2 separate regions of the Homo sapiens genome follow, and region 1 is linked to region 2. The links are contacts of gene promoters, found by promoter capture Hi-C in blood cells and fetal thymus (Javierre and others, 2016). All regions are on one chromosome and are shown on one strand. The core of a region is centred on a gene start or on the middle of the fragment in contact, and the rest is flanking DNA. Distances in the headings are between cores, read along the strand shown. Region 1 holds the start of TMEM185A (transmembrane protein 185A). Region 2 has its middle 68 kb from the start of FMR1NB.

The links. Contacts are between HindIII fragments. The CHiCAGO score rates a contact against its expected background, and 5 or more counts as called.
Region 1: the fragment with the promoter of TMEM185A here is called in contact with a fragment that was not itself captured in region 2 in 1 of 17 cell types (M1 macrophages); the score reaches 6.0 in M1 macrophages.

What each region holds. Positions count from the first base shown.
Region 1 is chrX:149,628,439-149,633,728 of GRCh38, reverse strand. It overlaps TMEM185A (transmembrane protein 185A), which reads left to right and starts at 1,937. Exons shown (of 7, transcript NM_032508.4): 1 at 1,937-2,186. The coding sequence starts at 2,149. RefSeq lists silencers at 1,975-2,384, 2,395-2,444. The HindIII fragment of the contact is 7,464 bases long and covers 745-5,290 here.
Region 2 is chrX:148,045,899-148,051,872 of GRCh38, reverse strand. No RefSeq gene overlaps it. Among named protein-coding and RNA genes, the nearest start is that of FMR1NB, 68 kb to the right of the region's middle. The HindIII fragment of the contact is 941 bases long and covers 1,897-2,837 here.

The DNA of each region.
Region 1 (5,290 bases), core at 688-3,187, 1.6 Mb before region 2:
AGCCTTGGGAAAGTCCAGTTCTTCCTGTATTTCCTCACAGACAGGTTCATATGTTCCTCTTGGCAATTTACCTTGTCAGAGCAAAAGAACACACTGACAAGTAATTTGTGCATCAGTGTCCTGTTGCCTTTGCTAGATAGCTTCCAGGGCCTGGTCAACTCTGGAAGAACTGCTAAAATTGAACTTGTGGGCCTGCAGAGCAGTGGTTCAGCTCCCAGACTCCCTGGGATCTCATTAAAGTAGCGTCTGCCCTCAAGATTCTGGACTCTGAGGAGCCTGCCTGGTCTCTATCTATGAAGCTCTTGAAAGGGCAGTGATGCCTGTTATTCAAGTGTCTGAACTGGCAGACCATCTTCTCATGCCTGCTTGGGGCACGGTCACTGGTAATGAAGATGGTGCTGTCCAATCTGACCACTGGCAAGCACCTCTTTCTAACAGTATGGGCTGCAGGTTCAGCTAGACCCTGAGTTTCATCTGTGCTCCTTCACCCTTACTTGCTGGCTCGCTCAGGGCCTGTTATACAAGCTTCTCTGCGCCTTAATTCCTCGTCTGTATTTGAGTGTTCATTGAGAACCTCCTCTGGGCTACACATTGGACTTTACCCAGAGGATGGGAAAGGAAGATGGGTGAAAAAGTCTGGGACAGGGTCCTGGTGCTTCAGCAGATGAAAACTTGATTTGGATTACTCAACCTTAAAATCAGCTCATATAATAATATCCATTTCCCAGTGGGTGTTGGGAAGCTTAATTACCACTTATGATATGTTTTTACGTTCTCAGAAGAAAGGTGATACATCAAGACTAAGTATGACTATCGCAATTGTGATTCTCTCAAGCTGCCCTTGGGGCTAAACAGTATAAAATTGTCATTTGTGAAACTCTGCTATTGCAACAAAGGATGACTATTATCCATAATGATAGTAGACTAATGTTTAAGGCATTGTTGTGCTCATGAAAACTTAAATCTGCCCAAAGTGAAGATGGTAAACTAGGTCACCTGCTATGAGCTTGTCCTGCTCTTGGATTCCAAAAGCAAACAAAATCCTTGAGGAGGTTGACACCTGAAAGAGTACCAGATAGCAACAGCATTCTTTGTACACCTAGCATGTACCAGGCAGTGTGTTATGCACACGATCTCACTGAATCTTCCTAACACGCTTAGAAAAGAGGTTTTTATCATTTCCATTCTGCGGAGGAGAAAAACTGAGACTCAAAGATGTTGACTTGCCCAAGGAAGATGAACCTGGTACTTGTAAGTAGGGCAGCCTGGAGTGGAGGCAGAGGTCAGGTGTGAAGTGACCACAAAGTTTAGACAGGATCCAAGGAGGCTCTGAACTGGGTTAGAAAAATGAGGATGATTTCCACGTCTCCTGCTTGAATACCCCCCTGCGTACGAATAGGCCTGCTGCTAAGGGAAAAAGGGAACCCAGGAGGGGAAGGCGGTTGGCACGGGAAGTGACTTTGGTGCTAGGTAACTTGAGTAGGGAATAGCCAGCATATCTGGACACGCTGGCTTGGGAATTGGAAGGGAAGTTGGGACCCAAACTTTGGAGTCGTTGACAGATGTGACAGGTGAAGCCTGGGATGACATCGCCAAAAATGCAACGTCTCACTCATTGTCACTACTCCCAGGGCTCAGTCGTCACTGGGGAAAATCTCCAGAAGGTAGCGCGGGCCAAGGTGACAGGTGTCTGCCAAGATCTGCCCGCCAGACTCCCGGGCGGCGCGCTCCCTCCCTGCAGGCCTTCAGCCCGTCAGCATCCCCTTCCTCGGGGCCCTGCTCACTCCCAGCCTCCATCCCCCTGCCATCTCCTCCGCCGGTCGCGTGCGGACACAAGGATGGGGACCTCCCAGCGAGGAGCGCTCTGGGCGGGGCTCCGGACGCATGCGCGGCCCTCGTACGGAAGCCCGGAAGGAGGGGCAGGGGGCGGTGGCTCAGGTTTCTCCGGGCGGCGGCGGCGGCGGCGGCGGCGGCGGCGGCGGCGGCGGCGGCGACGGCGACGGCGACGGCAGCGGGGACGGCAGCAGTAGCGGGAGCAGCAGCGTGGACGCGGCTGGCGCTGGCGCCATGAACCCGCTGTAAGGCGCAGGCTGTGCAGCACGGGGTGCGGGGGAGGAGGAGGAGGACGCCGCGGTGAAGTTCTCCGCCATGAACCTGAGGGGCCTCTTCCAGGACTTCAACCCGAGGTGAGGCGGCGTCGTTGGCGCCCCCGGGAGTCCGCGCTGCGGGCTCGGGCGCGGGCTGGTGTTCGGCTCCGGGGAGGCACGGCGGGCGAGATGCTGCAGCCCGAGGACCCGGGCGCCTGCCCGAGCCTCCCTGCGGGTGCAAGCGGTCCCCAGGCAAAACAGTCGGCCTCGGCGCCCGCCCGCTTCCTCCTCCCGTGCCCGGTGCTTTCAGCCCCTGCCCGGCCACGGCCGGAAGGGCCCGGCCGCGAGCCCCGTCCTGCCCCAAGGGAACCCCATTCTTTTCTGCTTGCTGTCCCTCATTGGTGTCCCAACTTCTTCGTCTCGGTTCCATCCTCTTCTGCGCCGCTGCGGGCCCTCCATTCTCCGCGTCAGGGCCGTCTCACTCGACCCAACACCCCTACCCCCACCCCAGCTGTTTCCTCCAGTTCCTCGCAGTCCTTGGGGTTTTCCTTGGGTTTATGCCCATCCCTCTCTTGTTTGCTTCTTTGTTGAACGGATACCTGAAACACTGTTGAATCCTTGGAGTCAGTGTCGGGGTATGGCAATACCTTATATAATGCATTTCTGGGTGAGCCTGATCATTTTCCATACTCATTTTCTCATCAGTCTTCACTACAAGTTTATTTGCAGGAAGTAGATATTGCTGTCCTTCTTTTCCAGATGGGGAACACCCAGTGGACAGTGTGGAGAAAACACTGGCTAAGCACTCAAGCGCCTGTCCTTGCACTTGCCCGACTGTTTTGTAACTGTTCTTTACCCCAGGCTGTGAGCTCCCTGAAGCTGAGACCATCTCCTGCTCATCTCAGTGTCCCCAGCGCCTCCCACCCACCGTATCTGGCACATAGTAGGCACATATAAAATGTTTGTGGAACTAAACTGAGCCCAAAGACTTGGATTGGAGACGAGGCCATATGTAACTGGGTGATTCTCTGCCCTTCTTTGGCCCTTCTGTAAAATGAGGAGTTGGCCTAACTGATCTCTTAAATGCACTACTCTCCGAAAGGAGTATCCGTTTCCCTTATTTGCCAGTTGGGAAGACGTGCTCAGTAAATATTTGTGTGCTGTAACCTATGTTAGGTGCTTTAGATGCTGGCGGTCTCAGCATGGGGTGAAGAAGGGCTTGTACACTTAAGATGCCTTACAGTACTGTGCAGTGCTGTACTGCGGGGGCCAACTCTGGGGACCTATGCCTTGGCTGCTTGTTGAGGATGAAAGGAAGTTTTAGGGGAGTATTTGTATGTTGAGGGTGCAGTCTCCCTAGGGATGGTGACATTTTAACTTGTGAGTCATTGTGACTTTGTATGTGCTCTTATTCCACTTTGAGTTCATGTTCTGGTTAGGAGTGCCAGTGTCTCTAACACGGTGCAGACATTATCATTGTTGGCTTCGAAGGCATAGAGGAGGTAACAGAACTAACTGCAGTCCCTTCCTCTGCTGCATCAGGGGGTTAAGATTGGTCTGCAGGGTAGTAGGGTTGGTGCTGTGGCTGGACAAGCCCTGTATGTCTTCTATTTGGAGATGGTGATAAGAAAGTTAAGTAAAAACTGAATTGTTTTGTGCCCTTGGGCAACTCACTTATCTATTGTTTTATCTGTAGAATGAGTATAATCTCTCAGTGGGGTAGGGAGGCCAATTAAGGATTGATTACAAAGTGCCTTACAAATAGAAAGCTACAGTGACTTGTTTGCAAGGTGACAGAGAATTCAGAAGCCTCAAGAAACTGCCTTAAGTGATCAAACAGGCTAACGGAGTTGCCAAAGCAAAATAGTGCTGCACTGATACTACCTTTAACCGTTTTTTCCTTTAGCCCTTTTCCCCCCAAAAAAATTAGTATATGAAATTACAGTGAAATACCTGGTATCTAAGCAGATTTATAGTAATTCTCAACATATTCATCAATCTCTTAATTCTACCTGCATTAAAATGTATTTCTACCTGAAAAGTTTAAAGGTCTTTTATACTGTGCCATTTTCCTGATTCATTGTTGCCAGAGGTAGTGAGTTCCTTAATTTTACAGATATTTCAAGAGGACATTGGCCAGGTATTATTGGTAAATCAGATTTGTTTTTTTAGCTGGTAGTGTTTCACCTCTCCTGAGCACTCCTAGTTTTTGACAGTGTGCTTTAGTCTCCTTCCATGCTGAGGAAGGCCTTCTCTATAGGAGAAAGAAAACTGAGGGGTGTACACAGGAAGTTACCTTATGCTGGGGACTCAAACCTTGATGCTACTGCTTTGCTCCCTGCCTCTATTTTTGAACCAATTCAACATCTCCCTCCTACCCCAGGACCTTGTCACACACTGTTCTCTTTACCAGGAATGTTTCCCTCTCTTTTCCTCTCCTCCAGACCTAGTGAACTCCTATTTATCCTCACTTGGCACTTGCTAAGGGAAGCATTCCTGACTTCCCTGACCAGATTTACTGCTCCCTGTTTCTACAGTTCCTGTAGTATTTACTACTCCTCCATCATAGTGCATATTTGTACCCTTGTGTCTGTCTGGATGCTTATTTGATTAATACCTGCCTCCCCCACTAAACTTTAAGCTCCATGGGGTCAAGGCCGTGACTGTGTCAGTATCGTAGCCTGCATACTTGGAATAGTACCTGGCTCAATAAATATTTGTGGAGTAAATAACTGAATAACTCTCCAGAGCCTATAAGATAAATCTAGAGCTGCTGCTTTCAATCACTGCTTTCCTGGTGGTCTGTGGCCTGGTTCTCTTTCTTCTCACACTCTTCCCACCTTCAGAGTGCAGCCATTGCTTTGGAGAGATGGGAGAGAACATGGCACTAAGGCAGAATATGGCTATATTTACTTTGAAGAGCATGTCTTTGTCATAGAAATAGTCACTGTCATGGTTTGGTGGGTCCCAAGGCATGGGTCATGGCTCCAGATCCCCTTTCCAGCCTTTTGGATCTTGGTAAGTCTGAACCCACTGCTGCGTTGGCAAGGCTCTGGAAACTATAGTGACAGAGAATGATTCACAAGTGTCAACACTCAGATGTACAGGGCTGCCAGCTGACCCACTCTACCTATTTCCATCTGGCACTGAACTGGTTGATCATGAACTTCTTTTCATAATTGCTTTTTAGTTATGCAGGTTAA
Region 2 (5,974 bases), core at 1,118-3,617:
TGTAAAATAAATCAGTGAAATAAATTATAAGCAAAATTGTTTTTAAAACATTGTCCAATATGTCAGTGTCACATATGTGATGCCGTATGATTAATTTCTTTGTAGCATTCTTACTTTGGAAGAAATATATAGAGCCAACATATTTTCCTTTTCCCCTTGGATACCAGAAAGCTCAGAGGTAAACTTTTTGCTATATTCTGTAGAGAAGTCATTCCATATTCCAGGTCCTGTTATCTCATTCCTTCTAAAGAGTTATCTCATTCGTTCTAAATAATTTGTCTTTTTTAGTTTATACATTTGTTTTTTATTGTTTCATTTCAGTCTATTAATATTGTAAACATCTTTGAATGTGGAAGGGATATAACTTATAAGTTAACCAGCTGGCTCTCTTTAGCTGTTGTCTATTCAAGATGAATGACAGAACTGATCATACTGCACAATTATATTTAGCACATGAAGGTCTCAAAGGATAGTGCCAACATACACTCCCTTTATATCATTATTTATTCAGACTACATTCTCATTTTTAAAAATCCAGACAACAGAAAAACATATGAAACACAAAACATAAGTTCCCTTGTACTACAATACTACTCCTTTCCCCACAACATAAATAAATCGCTTTAAGCAAATTTTTATATGATCTCCCATATCTTATTTTCTGAACATATAATAGCAAATGTATACTCCAAAATAGTATTCTGCTTTACATATAGCTCTGCAACTTGCTCTGTTTCTCCTACAGTTCAGCTTGGATATCTTTCCATGTCAATATATATGAATCTATGTCATTATTTTCAACAGTTACATACAATCTCAATATATGAATGTGTCATTATTTATTTCACCAGTTCTCTACTGAACGTAAGCTCTTTTAAGGAACAACATGGCACAACATGGTATTTCCATGGGGAATGCAGTAAAGAGAAGTTAAAAGTTTATTTCTAAAGACATGACCATCTTACTATTTAGTCTCTCACTTTCAGTCACATTACTAATTGCATGTAGCTCATGGTCCCTCAATAATGAATTTTTAATACTAATAAAATTGAGAGAGCAAAAATGGTAACAACTCAGTAAATGACATTTTAAGCCAACTACACGCTGCCAACACATTTTAAATGAGTATTTTATTTTCCCTTAGTTTACACTTTTAAAAAAATCCATTCCACCCAAATAGCCAGATCAAGTTGCTCAACAGGGATTTTATTTTACAATCAAGTCATCATGTAAGTTTCTAAGACAACTATCTGCCCAATGAATCGAAAGAAGAGCATTATGTGGCTTGGCTCTTACTGTGATCACCTAGCAGCTCACGTTGCAGTTTATAGAAACCTAGTCCTGATCCAAACCAAAACTCTTGGGGTGGCAGGGGTTGAAGGTGGGAACAAGAGGCAAGCTGACACTCACAGAAGACTAGAAGCTTCCCGCAATTACAAGCTTGGCTCATGTTGCCCTAAAAATATGAACTCTTTTCACAAATGTTTATAAAGAGAAAATTTTATATTGCAGGCATCTCCACTGACCAATAAGCTGTTTCTGTTTGGGGAGTAAAAAAATGAAATACAGGCAAACAACTGATTTTGTTTGGGGGAGAATTGTTTTATGTGACCACAAACATCTTGCTGGCTACAGTTTTAACTTGGTGTGTGTGTTTGGGGAAAGATGTTGGGGAAGAGGATGGCATAAGTGCTACATTCACACCCAGGTCTTCTGACTCCTATCCATCCACATCCACTAGTTCCTACATCAATCCATTTAACAAATAAGCACTGCCAGAGCACTTCACTAAACTCACTTTCAAAGCACATATTAAAGAGAAATGGCTTAAACTACTACCAGTTCTGATGTGATTAAGGCATTGATCTAGTGCCACTTTCTTGAACCCCTCAAGCTTCTAAGTTTGGGGAGCAATAATTGACCCCTTTGAGACATAGTAGAAACTGTAGATATTCTCATCATAAAAGGAGAATGCTCATACACATAACATTTTGGACACATTTCAGGAGTTTATGGACCAAATTTAACAAAATGGTATTTATTTCGATGAAAGCAATTCATAGAATGATACAACCAAACGGCATTTTGTCTTCATACCTTTGTATAACATTACATGTAAATGTATTCACAAAGCCAAAACAATCCTTTGTTGGATCTCTCATCCTGCTTTTCAAATCAGAAAATGTCACCTTATAAGAGGCCCCCAAGAAACCCATTCTGAGGGTGTTCCTCTACTGCCATCTTGTGGATTTTCGTTGAAAAAATAAAACGCTACAAGAGTTTTTTCTTCTAATTTTCAAGACCTGCATACCTCTCACCTATGTTTGCCAACTGTTAACATCTGGATACATCCACTCTATTTATCTAAATACACACCCATACCCACACATCCTTTTTTTCCAAATCATACAAAAGTAGGTTGCTTTCATCATGACACTTCACTGCAAAATATTTCAGGATGTATTTTCCAAGAATAAACTGATTCCTATAACCACAATACCAACACACCTAAGAAAGTCACCATGAATTCAATATCATCCAGCATCCAGTCTTCACTAAAATTCCTTCGATTATCCTCCAAAATATCCTTTATAGCTTCTGTTTTTCCAATCCAAGATCCACTCAAGATTCACTCAGAGCATTTGAGTGTCTCTTTAAAGAGTCCAGGTAGGATGTCCTCCATCATACCTCACATTCTAGAATTGCCTCTTTCCTCGCTATGATAGTTAGATCAAACATTTCCAGCAAGAACATCACATAAATGACGTTGTGTACCTTCCTCTTGATCATACTGAAGGCACATCATCAAGCAAAACCACTATTGGCATTGCCAAGCTTGACCACTTGGTTAAAGTGATGACCACCAGACTTTTCCATTGAGAAAGCACATTTTTTCTCTTTAAAAGTAGTCTGTAGAGTGATATTTTGAGACTTATTTTCAACATTTTACCCAGTCATATTAGCATCCTCTGATGATCCTTACCTGAGCCAATTATTACTTTGGGTGTTAAAAAGTATTGCTTTTCTAATTATTTTATTCCTTCTACATTTAGTAGCTGGCATTCTTCTGTTTTAAAAAAAACACACTGGGAATTCTTTTTTCTCCTCTCCTTTTATTTTACTTTGAATATTACCATGAATTTATGGATTTTTTTTTCTTAACTCAATGTACTATAAACTATTACCAAATTTTTTTTATGTTTAAATTATCCCAGACTTGGCCAGTGGGTGTCCCTTCAAGTTGCTTCCTGTGTCCTTATGAAATGTCCCCATCATTCTCTGATCACTTTCTTACTTTCTGGTTGTATTAATCCATTTTCATACTGATATGAAGAAATACCCGAGACTGGGTAATTTATAAAGAAAAAAGAGGTTTAATGGACTCAAGTGCCACATGGCTGGTGTGGCCTCACAATCATGGTGGAAGGCAAAGGAGGAGCAAAGGTATGTCTTACATGGCAGCAGGCAAGAGAGCATGTGCAGGAGAACCGCCCTTTATACAACCATCAGATCTTGTAAGTCTTATTCACTACCATGAGAACAGCAGGGAAAAAAAACCCTTCTCCATGATTCATTTGCCTCCCACTGGGTCCCTCTCACAACATGTGGGGATTATGGGAGCTACAATTCAAGATGAGATTTGGGTGGGGACATAGCCAAACCATATCACTGGTATAGCAAGATATCTATATCTAGGCTCACATTGTGCTTGTACTTTCACTGAAATCAGTAGTTTCTCCAAAGAAACCTGATTAGTTTAAGTAAGAAATGATGCATAGAAACAAATATCTTGGTGTTAGGTATGTATGCTACTACAGGGTCATTACTCCTATATCCAGTCAATCAATGAACAGAGATAGAAATACATACACACACACTCACACACACACACACACACACACACACGCATGCACGTATTTTAATCATGAGTTCAGAGGTCTTCTATGATTGAGTAGCTTGTAGTAGAGATGAATATTTTAACAAGAAAAAGTAGAAAAGGCAGGTTTTTATAAACATTTTTTGAGAAGAAATAAGAAGGCTACTAAGGTAGCCAGGACTTGAGAAACTAGATCCAGAAAGAAGGGAGCTCATTAAGGTGAGCTTACTTCATGGACACTTATTTTCCTCCTTGATGTTTTTGGCATGGAGAATGAGATAAAGAATTTAGCAGAGCAGTTTTAGGTCACCTCTTGGGGCTGGGGAGATTAAAAGTGTTCAGTGGACAATGCAGCTAGGTGTTGAGAGACCAAGCTCTCAGAGAGATAGAAGGGACAGAGAATAGAACCTAGCGCTTGGAACCAGTGTTCTTCTAGAGGCATTTACAGTTTAAACTGTGCAGAAAATTAGGGTAAGAAGCCAATCAGAAAGCATCAACAAAGTAGAGCAAGCAAGCAGGCTCACAATGTTCGAGGGTGAAAAATTGGAGTTCATGACCTTATAAGTAGGAGGAGTTCCAACAAACAACCCTGATTCTTAGTTGGAACTCCTAGAGAGCTACGCCCTAGAAGTGGGAGTAAACCAGAAGCAAACTGGGACATACAAAGACCGCAAATTAGCTTTCAGTTAGCAAAGCCCCAAGTTGAATTACATTTATCTAATTCTCTGCTGCCTGACAGAGGAAAAGGCAATATCCTCTGAAGGAAGATAACATGATCTGGAGTCTCTATATGTTTCATACACAATGTTGGGCATTCAGTCAAAACCATTTTTTATATGACAAAGAGTTGTATTCTTTTAAACTCTGAAGAAACAATAAGAGAAACATAAGCACTTTCATTTTTTAAAACAATCTTCTTTTCAGGTATTAAAGCTTTTCAGAGTTTAAATCAAAACTTCAATCTCATTCTGAATTCAAATCTTCTCTTCAATCTCAGTTTAGGCCTCATCTCTTGGGTCAGAAATAGGCAGGGAGGAGGAGGGTCTAATCCTTCACGTTCTTGATCTATTCAGTAAAAATTACTGACATACAAATAAATAGGAGCAAGAGAAAAAGAGAGAGGCTAGAAACAGAAACAGGTAATATTGGAGTTATCAGACCAAGACTTTAAAATAATTGTGATGAACAGGTTCCACAGAATTGGAATCTACAATAAAAAGCCAAATGGAAGTCTGGAACAGGAAATAAAATAGCTAAAATTAAGAGCTCAACAGATGGATTTAACAGCAGATTGGGCAAAGTTGAAAATGGAATTAGTGCACTAGATAGTATCTAGAATGAAGTGTAGAAGTAAAAAGCATTGATATTGCTGAAAAGGTTGTAAGATATATATATATATAATAGTGGGAAAGACTAATATAAGTGTAGTTGGGGGACCTAAGAAAAGAAGAGCAAGGGAGTTAGGGTAGAAGCAGCCTTAGAGAAAGTGGACAAATTCTTTAAGAAACACAACTCAATAAAATTGAAACAAAAATAAATAGTCCTAGATCTATGAAAGAACTGAAACCTGTTATTAAAAACCTCACCACAAAGTAAAACTCCAGGCTTAAATGGCTTCACTGACAAAGTGTTTCCAACACTTGGAGAGTAAATAACATTAATCTTACACGAATACTTCCAAAAAAAAAAAAAGAGAGAGAAAACATGGAACACTTCTCATCTTGTTTTATGAAGCCACCAAAACCAAAACTTGTAAAGGACATTCCAAGAAATAAAAATCACATTAATAATGTGTGTGTGTGTGTGTGTGTAAATCTAACTTAGTGATATTTAACAATGCTAATATATCACAACCACATGAAGCTTATGGAAAATTAATTCATTTAACTTATAATTTACTATATTAACAGGAAAAAAGGACAGAAAATCATATGATCACCTCACTAGATGCAGAAAAGATATTTAATAAAATTCTACTTTCAGTTGTGATTTGAAAAAAAAAAAAGAAAGCCTCTTAGCAAACTTAGAAGACAAGGGAACTTCCTCAATCTGAAAAAATAGCAGCTACAAAAATCCTACAGCAAACATCATAATTAT